Regions from separate parts of the Homo sapiens genome. Here all the other regions are linked to region 3. Evidence: promoter capture Hi-C in human tissues and cell types (Jung and others, 2019). All regions are on one chromosome and are shown on one strand. The core of a region is centred on a gene start or on the middle of the fragment in contact, and the rest is flanking DNA. Distances in the headings are between cores, read along the strand shown. Region 1 overlaps OSBP2 (oxysterol binding protein 2). Region 2 overlaps EIF4ENIF1 (eukaryotic translation initiation factor 4E nuclear import factor 1). Region 3 holds the start of PLA2G3 (phospholipase A2 group III).

Evidence for each region. The method cuts DNA at HindIII sites, captures the fragments that hold promoters and counts their contacts. A contact is called where the count stands out against the background at its distance.
Region 1: a contact is called between a fragment that was not itself captured here and the fragment with the promoter of PLA2G3 in region 3, in 2 of the 25 tissues and cell types used here (IMR-90 fibroblasts and lymphoblastoid cells).
Region 2: a contact is called between a fragment that was not itself captured here and the fragment with the promoter of PLA2G3 in region 3, in 1 of the 25 tissues and cell types used here (lymphoblastoid cells).

What each region holds. Positions count from the first base shown.
Region 1 is chr22:30,820,343-30,823,914 of GRCh38, reverse strand. All of the region lies in intron 2 of OSBP2 (oxysterol binding protein 2), which reads right to left. Among named protein-coding and RNA genes, the nearest start is that of MIR3200, 91 kb to the right of the region's middle. RefSeq lists enhancers at 422-986, 1,392-2,299. The HindIII fragment of the contact is 7,647 bases long and covers 1-3,572 here.
Region 2 is chr22:31,463,714-31,467,486 of GRCh38, reverse strand. It overlaps EIF4ENIF1 (eukaryotic translation initiation factor 4E nuclear import factor 1), which reads left to right. Exons shown (of 19, transcript NM_019843.4): 5 at 3,520-3,773. Among named protein-coding and RNA genes, the nearest start is that of EIF4ENIF1, 24 kb to the left of the region's middle. The HindIII fragment of the contact is 3,841 bases long and covers 282-3,773 here.
Region 3 is chr22:31,138,999-31,142,840 of GRCh38, reverse strand. PLA2G3 (phospholipase A2 group III) reads left to right here and starts at 2,333. Exons shown (of 7, transcript NM_015715.5): 1 at 2,333-3,000. The coding sequence starts at 2,487. RefSeq lists enhancers at 1,711-2,270, 2,271-2,829. The HindIII fragment of the contact is 19,816 bases long and covers 1-3,842 here.

The DNA of each region.
Region 1 (3,572 bases), core at 390-2,889, 320 kb after region 3:
CATCATTTAAATTTCGCGTAAAGAACATAACTACTTTAGAAATGACGCTATATCCAAAATAAAAACTGGAAACTAAGACCAATCCTCTAAAACCAGAACACACACTTTGGACGAAATTTACTTGCAAGTTTCCTTAAAGGACTCTTAAGATGGAGGTGTAGTATCAACTCCTAATGAAATACATTTCATTTACAACTGCACACACCCTAAGACCTCATATGGTGTTTCAAGAGAACTCACGTGGTTGGATGGGATTCCTGGGCTGAGGCTTGCAGCCTGCAACTTCGAAGTCCTCTGGAATGGACCAAGGTCTTATGAAGCCATTAGCATAACCAGTAAGCAGGCAAAGTTAATTACAAGGTTTATTACAGATCAGAGAGTGCTGATTTCTAAAGGAGCTGTTTCTAATAAATTCGTGTTAGGTGAAATTAACCGCCTCTGTGTCTTTTAAGTCCACAAGGTTAAAGAATCCTAATTTTTCCGAGTTTCAGATGTTAACAGAAACACTCATCAAGGTAAATACAGCAAATTTCACTCACGCAAAATTTCCAATAAAGAAGGTTTCAAGCATCAGGAATTGCAGGCAAGAGCTTACAGAGTTTGCAAGTCTTCCATTTAAGACAGCTAAGGTTTTCCCCCACGCTAGGAAGGGCCCTTGGGCTTGTGAGCCTGCACAGGCCAGGGCAGTCATTCAGGATCACCACGGGACGGGGAGGGAGGGTTGCTCAAACCCAGGCGGCCACTCGGAGAATCACACACTGAGCAAAGCCGACACCACTGGTGGCCCCAGGACGAGGCCCTTGTGGGCAAATCAGCGACTCTACAGGGGCTCCAGGGGCATGCGGACCCCAGGCCGACTCTGGGGAAGAAGAGGTAGATGGGTGGATAAAACACCGACCACCGCTTCCCCCTTCTTTTCATAAAGATATAGATTATATTTCATTTTCTTTTTGCATAGGTTAATTAGACGGACAAGTCTCTAGCCGCAGCCCCCTCTCCAAAATGCCCCGCGCGTGAAGCAAGCCGGGAGCGCACGCCGGCGGGGTGCGGGGACAGGGGTTCCCCGAGGCTCCCCGCGCTCCCCACGCCGCGAGGGAGTGACATCAGAGGCTCCCGTGGATCGATCACGCAGCAAAGCCAGGCACCGGGCGTGCATGCGCGGGGAGCCTGGCCTCCCTCCGGGTGGAAGCCCGGCAAGCACTAACCCTTCTTAAATTTATTCAGGCAGCCGGAGCTGCAGAAGGAGCGCACGGAGGCCGTGTCCCAGCAGCCGCGTCCCTTCATTTCCCGCGGCGGGGCAGCCTCCAATCGGCGGGGCGCTACATGGCGCCGGGTCCCGGGGGCTTGCACGGACGCGTGCACAGCTCGGTGGGCCGCCCGGCGGAGGCGGCGGACACTCGTGGGTCCCGGCGCCGCGTTACCACAATGCACCACTGCCGCCCGCCACCCGGTACATGAGCGCGTTAACCCCGTCCGCGCCGCGGGAGCCGAGCCCAGCCTGAGCGGCGGTGCTGCCTACCACTTCCTCCCGCCCCAGGAGCGCGGCCTCGTCCCGCGCGTCGCCTGCTGGTCCGTGCGACCCCGCGGACGCCCATGCAGGCTCCCCACTTCAATGTCACATTTTAATGCGAAAATCCGAGCGAAAGTGCTGTCCCCTGCAGCAACAAGCTCGGCGTTGCTTTATCTCAAAGGGCAAAGATGCCCTTGAGAGCTAAGGGGCACGCGGGAAATGGGGATGGCCAGGGGCCTGACGGTGATTCCAGGAAATCGGGGTCACCTCTGAGACCCTCTCATCTTCTGACCCCGCTGCCGTGGCTGGTGCACCTGTGTCTGGCCACCTGCAGACACCTGGCCACCATGCAGGAAGAAGGCAACAGGCAGGGCCCCGGGGAGCTGGGCTCCCTTAGTTCTGCTGCCACAGGCCTGCAGGCATCTGGTCACAAGGTATTTGCCCAGGCCTTTGAACACAACTCCACTGTCCAGCTGCCCACAGGCATAACCAGTAAGTTAGCAAAGTTAATTACAAGGTTTATTACAGATCAGAGAACGCTGATTTCTAAAGGAGCTGTTTCTAATAAATTCGTGTTAAGTGAAATTAACTGCCTCTGTGTCTTTTAGGTCTACAAGGTTAAAGAATCCTAGTTTTCCCCAGAGTTTCAGATGTTAACAGAAACACTCAACAAGGTAAATACAGCAAGTTTCACTTACAAAAATTTCCAGTAAAGAAGCGCCCACCGCCTCCGCCAGGCAGCCCACCGAAATCTCCGTGGGATGTGTGGTGGGCGTCAGAAACCCAACTGTCCAAATCTGAGCTTCCCTATCCCCGCACCCCCATCCCCCATCCACCGCCATTTGTACCACACCCTTCCTCAACCCTCCCCACCTCAGCTAGTGACATCATTCGGGTCAGAAACTCTGGAGTCGTCTGTGACTTCTCCGTCTCTTAGATCCACATCCAGTTGGTCAGCACATCATGATGGCTGTACCCGTAGAATACAGCCAGGATCCCTTGACTCTCACCACCTGCATGTTGTTTCTGGGGCCTGCTACGCCCTCGTCTTGCCTGTGGACTCTTACACAATCTCCCTGCAAGTCTCTCTGCTCCCACTCTGGTCCCCACAGTCTCTGCACAATATAACAGCTGAGAGATCCTGTACACTGTATGTCAGACGCTGACACTCTCCCACTCAGAGGTCTTCAACTCCACACTTGGGCCTGCCCCACTCCTCTGCTGAGGCTCCCACTTCGCTCTGCCTTATGTATGTCTCATCTTTCCCACTGGACTACAGACTCTGGGCCCTGGGACTGAGTTTTAGCCACTGCTTCATCTCCAACAGAGCCCTACCTAACTGTGCCACCTTGCAGGAGCTCAAGCAAAGGAATTGATCAAATGTAATTTATTGAAAAGGAATCCATTTTCACCAATTTAAAGCTTTTTCAAATACACATCAAAGCTCCTCTTTTAACATCTAATAGACCCAGGGAAGGTGGTGCTGGGTCAGTAATTCCCTTCCAGGCCTTTGAGGCAACTGAGTACTTCTTTCACCTGGAGAATTAATCCTTAACAATTGAGTTAGATTCACTGGCCGGGCAGGGGGATAGAAAGCATTTAGCCATTCTGGGCCTTGGTTTTCTGGCTGCAAAATGAAGAGCACCACAGTGATGGAAATGGTCCTAGCGATAGAGTGTTGAGAACACCAGGCTGCATGCTTGACCTGCATTTCCTCATTTCATTCTCACAGAAAAGCCTTGTTTGATAAATTTCACCAACACCCTCTTTTACAGATGAGGAGACTAAGGCTCTGAGGTCAAGTGACTTGCCCAGGGTCACCAGGCTTGGAACTGGCCTGGTCTGGCTGACCTCAGAGGCCACACTCAGAGAACCATGCTCTGCAAGGTCCCTTAAAGAGATTACTGCGCCCTGGGCTCCCAGAGGCCTCATGAGAAAAAAATGAGGTGGCGGGGGGTCTGGAATAGTGTTTTGGTTTGTTTTTAATTTTATTTTTAAAATTTTATTTTTTTTTTAGAGATGGGGTCTTACTCTGTCACCCAGACTCAAGTACAGTGACATG
Region 2 (3,773 bases), core at 953-3,452, 320 kb before region 3:
CGGTTTGAGACTGAAGTTAAGTCTGATCTTCCAACTTTCCTAGTTTAAAGTTTACCCCTTTAGAAACGTTGTTTAAGGGTGAAATGGAGACCAGGTAATATAAAAGCAGTCAAGGAACTTGTTGCAAGAACTTTTTTTGAGATGAGAGGACGACTCATCATAAAAACTTGGAACTAAACGAAAAAGATAGCCCGGCTCTAGTTTAAGCTATAAGACCCTTCTACACAGTCTGTCAGTACACTCAGTACAGTAATGTCTCTCAAAGAATTTATTCTAGCAGAATCATTAAAGATATGCAGAGACTTTATTAAAATGATGAAAACTGAGAAGGAACCTAAATATCCAACAGTAGAAATGGGTCGCGTAAACTTCGGTGTATCCATATATGGGAATGTTACATTGCATTGTCCTGTAAAACCATGTTGCAGATGTGTTTATTGGCAAATAATGTTCATGACGTACTGACTCATAGAAAACTCTCCATATTGTATCCTGTGTTTGGAAAAAACAGACTGCACAGAAATTCTGTAAAAGTACACAACAGAACATTCTAGGAGCTGTTTGTGATAACAGAATTAAAGCAGATTTTTCTCACATGGACTAATCTTCAGTTTCCTGGTTTTTCTAGGAAGACATTTTTTGTATGGTGACATGTTTGTTCTTCCTACACCAATAAATTTATTGAGATAGAATTTACATATAGCCTGCACAAAAAGTATACCATTTGATGTCTTGACATGTGTATATACCTGTGAAACCGTTACCAAAATCAACATAAGCATTTTTATCACCCCCAAAAGTTCCCTAGTATTCCTATGTGTCCCTCCCTTTAGCTGCCCCCCCCACAACACTTCCCCCTTCCCAAGCAAGCGCTGATTTGCTTTGTTTTTTTTTGTTGTTTTTTTGAGACAGAGTCTCCCTCTGTTGCCTAGGCTGGAGTACAGTGGCGTGGTCTCTGCTTACTGCAACCTCTGCCTCCCAGGTTAAAGCGATTGTCTTGCCTCAGCTTCCTGAGTAGCTGGGATTACACATACACGTTCCACCGTGCCCAGCTAATTTTTTTTTCCCCCCACCGAGACAGAGTCTTGCTCTGTCACCCAGGCTGGAGTGCAGTGGCGCGATCTCGGCTCACTGCAACCTCTGCCTCCCGGGTTCAAGCGATTGTCGCGCCTCAGCCTCCCAAGTAGCTGGGATTATAGGCGTGCGCCACCATGCCTGGCTAATTTTTGTATTTTTAGTAGAGACAGGGTTTCACCATGTTGGCCAGGCTGGTCTTAAACTCCTGACCTCAAGTGATCCACCCACCTCAGCCTCCCAAAGTGCTGGGATCACAGGCATGAGTCACCGTGCCTGGCCCCAATTTTTGTATTTTTAGTAGAGACAAGGTTTCCCTATGTTGGCCAGGCTGGTGTTGAACTCCCAACCTCAGGTGATCCACCTGTCTTGGCCTCCCAAAGTGTTGGGATTACAGGCATGAGCCATAGTGTCCGGACTGATCTGCTTTCTGTATCTGCTTTCTGTTTCTATAGATTAGTTTACATTTCCTAGGATTTTATATAAATGGAGTTACTATAGTATATACTCCTTGTATAGCTTTTTTCATTAAGAATAGTTACGATTTATCCACGTTGTTGAGTGTCTAGTTTATTTTCATTGCTTAATAGTATTCCATTGTATGGATTTAGCAGTTGATCCGTTTATCTGTTGATGTACATTTGGGTTGTTTCCAGTTTTTGACTGTTAAATAACCAAAGCTGCAATGAACATTCATGTACAAGTCTCTGGACATAAGCTTTCTTTTCTCTTGGGTAAAAACCTAGGATTAAAATGGCTGGGTTGTATAGCAGATGTATGTTTAACCTTCTGGGAAATTGCCAAACTGTTTTCCAAAGTAGTTGTACCATTTTACGTTTCCACCAGTGGTGTATGAGAGTTGCACTTGCTCCAACATCCTCATCTGCACTTGGAATGGTCATTTAAATTTTAGCCATTGTAATAGGCGTGTAGTAGTATCACATGGTTTAATTTGCATTTCCCTAATGACTAATTATGTTGAGTATCTTTTCATATGCTTATTTGCCTTCCACATAACCTCTTTGGTGAAGTGTCTGTTCAAACCATTTGTCTATTTTTCAATTGTGTTGGTTTTTTTTTTTTTTTTTTGAGACAGAGTCTGGCTCTTGGTGCCCAGGCTACAGTGCAGTGGTGCAGTCTCAGCTCACTGCAACCTCCACTTCCCAGGTTTAAGCGATTCTCCTGCCTCAGCCTCCCAAGTAGCTGGGATTACAGGTGCCTACCACCACGCCTGGCTAATTTTGTATTTTTAGTAGAGACGAGGTTTCACCATGTTGGTCAGGCTAGTCTCGAACTCCTAACCTCAGGTGATCCACCTACCTCAGCCTCCCAAAGTGCTGGGATTACAGGCGTGAGCCACTGGGTTGGTTTATTAAGAGATTTTATGTGTTCTGAATTTAAGTCCTTTATCAGAAAAATGCTTTGAAATATTTTGTCTCAGTCTGTGGCTTGTCTTTGCATTCTCTAAACAGTGTCTTTCAAAGAGTAGAAGTTTTAAATTTTGATCAAGCCCAGTCTATCAGTGTTTTTTAAATGGATCATGCTTTTGGTGTCATGCCTAAGAAAACTTTGCCTAACCCAGTGCCACAAGGATTTCCTCCTATATTTTGTTCTAGAAATTTTTAGTTTTAGGTTTTACATTTAGATCTGTGATCCATTTTGAATTAATTTTTGTATATATCTGTTTATATATATATATATATATATATATATTTTTTTTTTTTTTTTTTTTTTTTTGAGACTGAATCTTAGTCTTTTGCCCAGGCTACAGTGTAGCGGGGTGACTTCTGCTACTGCAACCTCTGCCTCCAGGTTCAAGCGATTCTCCTGCCTCAGCCTCCCAAGTAACTGGGATTACAGGCACCTGCCACAATGCCTGGCTAATTTTTGTAGTTTTAGTAGAGACGGGGTTTCACCATCTTGGCCAGGCTGGTCTTGAACTCCTAACCTCGTGATCCACCTGCCTTGACGTCCCAAAGTACTGGATTATAGGCGTGAGCCACCATGCCCGGCCCCAAATATAGATTTAAGTTCATTTCTTTGTCTGTGGATATCTAACCGTTCAACACCATTTTGTTGAAGAGACACTTTAACTTTTTAAGCAGTTATTTTTTCAAATACGCCTGCTGTAGTTTATTAGTTGACAAAACATTTGCTAATAATTCTTAGATAAGGATTTGGTCAAAATAAAGGCACTGCAAAGACTAATCATGGAAAATTATTTATCGTGACGTACTTCTATTGCTGCAAAGAGGAAGGCCAATGTCTCAGCCTTATTTAAATACATAATGTACATGTTACCCTGAATCTGCTGATAAGCCCAATTTTAGTGGTGACTCTCTTCCAACCATCCCCTTCCTCCCATCAGTCATGGACATACTATCTAAAAAAGAAGAAAACACCCTTGTTGGTTTGTTTAACTTTGTCTTTCCCACGTCCTTCCAGATCCACGAGAGCGTGTGAAAGAAGATGACTTAGATGTTGTTCTCAGCCCTCAGAGACGGAGCTTTGGAGGGGGCTGCCACGTGACAGCCGCTGTTAGCTCCCGGCGCTCAGGAAGTCCATTAGAGAAAGATAGTGATGGGCTTCGTCTGCTTGGTGGACGTAGGATTGGCAGTGGGAGGATAATCTCTGCCCGGACCTTTGAGAAGGATCACCGTCTTAGCGATAAGGACCTGCGGGACTTGAGAGACAGAGAC
Region 3 (3,842 bases), core at 1,084-3,583:
CACGGGGTTTGGGGGTTTGTGTATGGGGAAGGATGGTGAGAGACAGGGATAGACGATCACACAGGGAAGAAGGAGAGGCCCTGCCCCTCCTTCTCTCATGAACCCCCACCCCTACTCCCCACTGGCACCCACTATGCACCCTGCCTCACCCAGACAGGTGGAGGGCCAGAGAAAAGCCTCAGACCCTCTTCCGTCTGCAGGACCCAGGCCTTCCTGTCTCGCTGGTTTGGCCCCTCTGCTCCAGGGCCTCTGAGGGACACCCTGGTGGAAGGCAGGACTCTGAGCCTGTCTTGTGGCTGACTGACTTGTTTTTGGGTGGAGTCTGGACAGAAAGCTCAGTGACACCCTCCCTCGAGGCCTGGGCAAGCCCCAGCCTGATGTTCTTTGAGACCCAGACTGGAAAAGACCTCAAAGTTCAACTCCACTGTACTTCTCACTGTACAGTGGGGGAAACTGAGTCCCAGAAAGGGACAGGGACAAGCCTGGAGTGACCCAGGCAGGTAGTGTCCTGGCCACTGTTCCCACAGTTGCCATCTAGCCCGAGCTCTCAGATATCACAGATGCTGTGGCCCCAAAATCTTGGGACTTGCTTTCTCCTGAGTAAACTGCTTCCTGGCCAGGGGTATCCTGAGGCTTTAGTGATGGTGTTTTGGGTGCCAGGAACTGTGCTGGGAATCTTACCCAACATCCTGTGGAGTGACTACTGTGATTATGCCCATGATACAGATGAGGAAACTAAGACTCAGAGAAGTTAAGATTTCCAAGCCTAGGGTCTGTGTGGAAACCTAAGCTGGACCTGTCTGACCTCGAAAGCTTGGCTCCTCGTATCCTACCTCCCAGCCTCCCCAGGTGATGGGCAGGGAAGGGCTCAGCAATGTGGAAAAGGGGGCAGAGGTGGGTGGCAGTTCCTATGATGGGAGGAAGTCTCAGCATGATGATTTTTCAAACATCACAACTCTTCACAGAAGGACTCACCTTTGTTCAGCTACATCCTTGCCCTTGGGGACCCCAGGTCTACCTCCTCTGCCACCACTCGCTGTATTCCACACCCCCTTTCTCAACCTCTGGCAAGAAGGCGCTTGGTCCCTGGACTAGCCCTACCCTCTTTCCCTTCTCTTCATTGTTCCCAGCTATGATGCTTTGAGCCACAGGCCCAGGCTGGTTCTGAAGCTACAGAGATGGACCTGCCCACCCTGCAGCCCCCTTCCCCCTCTGCCACACAGTGAGCTCTCCTTCCCCAGCTCTGCCCCTGGCTTTACCTCACTGGGGCTCATCCCCTGGAAGAGACTCAGATGGAGCCTGGGGCAGGGGGAGGCTGGAGAAGCAGCAGGCTAATGGGCAGATGGAAGACAGACAAGTCACTGTCCTGGCCAGCCCTGACTCCCATCCAGATCCCCAAGCGCTGCATTCCCATCCTCTAAGCCCTCCCCAGCTGGAGCCTGTCACCTGAGGTTTTCCCACCCTCACTGAGCCTCAGTTTCTTCATCTGCACTATGGGTGTAAGCACCCTGGCCTCACTAGATGGTTGGAAGCTGGGCTTTGGGATCCAGGAACAATACCTGGGTATAGCCCCTTCCTGATGGAGAGATTCCTGTCTCATGAGGCACACATGATGCCTGCTGTGTCCCCCCAGGTGGCCAGGGATGGAGGTGGCCACAGACATACACCCTGGGCCACTCTCTGCCACTCTAGGGACCATAGTTCTTTCAAATCCAGAGCATCAGCCCTGCCCTGTGTGGCTCTCAAGGCCTGTTCCCGCTGCGTCTCCCCCAGTTATCAGACCAGGAGGGTTGCTGCAAGGCCAGGCCCATGCTTGGAGTCCTAGGAAGCGGGGAGCCCTGGGGCTCTGTCCCCTGAGTATGCCGAGAGCCTTTCTAAGAACCAGGACTTGGCAGGGGAGCACCCCAGGTGGCACTCCCTTTCCCAGAAGCCTTGGGAACTCCCAGGGTGGTAGCTTCAGAGCCCCAGCCCTTCCTTCACCCAGCCCTGGCAGAGGCCCATGGCCCCCTGCCAGCCTGATGGAGGTGGATGTGGCAGCCACCGCTGTGGTAAGGGTGAGAAGGGTGGGTTCTAAGGGACTCCTCCAAGCTCCTGAACCCTTTTCCTTCCCTTCAAGGAGATGTGAAAGCCCCAGCCTGGTCCCCATCCCACAGCTTAGGGCTTTGGCTCCCATAGTCCCAATCTAGGCAGGGCTGGCAGCAGGTGACTGGATGGTGCTGAGAAGGCAGGCAGAATGGGGGCGTGGGCCCTGGCAAGTGCACTCCTCAGCCAATCAGCGTCCTGCCCGGCTGGTGGATTCGGTTACAAGCCCAAGATCACCCCATACTCCAGCCTCTTTCCTCCTCCTCCCGCAGCTCCATTCATTGGTCCCGCCGCACCGGGCCTGCTGGGCTCCGCTTCCGTTCCACTGCTCAGCTGCCGCCTGGTGGGGCCACCAAGGGCAGGCATCCCAGGGGCTTTGTCTGACTGGACTGGGCCAGTGCAGAATGGGGGTTCAGGCAGGGCTGTTTGGGATGCTGGGCTTCCTGGGGGTGGCCCTGGGGGGCTCCCCTGCCCTCCGCTGGTACAGGACCTCCTGCCACTTGACCAAGGCCGTCCCTGGCAACCCACTGGGGTACCTGAGCTTCCTGGCCAAGGATGCTCAGGGACTGGCCCTGATCCATGCCCGCTGGGATGCGCATAGGAGGCTGCAGTCATGTAGCTGGGAGGATGAGCCGGAGCTCACCGCAGCCTACGGTGCTCTCTGTGCTCATGAGACTGCCTGGGGCTCCTTCATCCACACCCCCGGACCCGAGCTGCAGAGAGCACTGGCCACTCTTCAGAGTCAGTGGGAGGCATGCCGAGCGCTTGAGGAGAGTCCAGCAGGGGCCAGGAAGAAGCGAGCAGCAGGGCAGAGTGGAGTCCCTGGTGGAGGGCACCAGCGAGAGAAGAGAGGATGGACCATGCCTGGCACACTGTGGTGTGGAGTTGGAGATTCTGCTGGGAACTCCTCGGAGCTGGGTGAGCCATGAGGGGTGTGTGGGCTGGGGGGTCCGATCGGGGAAGCAAGGTTTCTTCAGCCCCAGCCCTTACTCTCCTAGGCTGTGTGTCCCTGGGGGAGTGACTTGACCATGGTGAACCTCAATTTCCTTATCTGTAAAGTGGGGGCAATCACGAATCTCATCATGGGGTGCTTAAATGAGGTCACGGTTGGGGAAAGTCTTATTCAAACCTGGGAGTCCTCATTAAATGCCATCCGAGGGACTGGGCAGGCTGGGGGAGGATCCAGGGTCAACTGAGCCAAAAAGCCATTACCCAGGAGGAGGCTTTGTGGGCACGGGGTGCCCAGTGGAATGGATGCTGAGACGAAAGGCCTGGGTTCAAATCCCAACTCAGCACATACAAGCTGAGCAAGTCACTTCCCCTCTCTGGACTTATTTCCTCACCTGTAAAATGAAGGTGATACCTCCCTTTCAGGGCTGGCTGTGAACCTGGATGTGGGAAGTGCCAGGCATGTGGGAAATGCTTAGTAAAGAGTGCTATTTTTTAGATGGTAATAAACATAGATGAATTTCTTGCACTATCAGTACAGATGTCTGTGCGTTTGTGTGCAGGGTTGGGGGAGGGCTTGGCACCTGAGTCAGAGTAGGTTGGCATCCTGGCGACACCTCCTTGTGCCAGTGAGAAAGGTTGCACCCTGCCTGTTTGCCATTCCATCATACACACATTCATAATTTTGGAGTTTTATTTGGGGCGTGGGCTTGGGAACTCTGGAGGCAGACTCCAATTCCCCTGAGGAAGACCTTTCCATGTATTTATGGGTGGGCTACCTGGCATTTAGAGTTGCCCAACAGAGGCTGCAG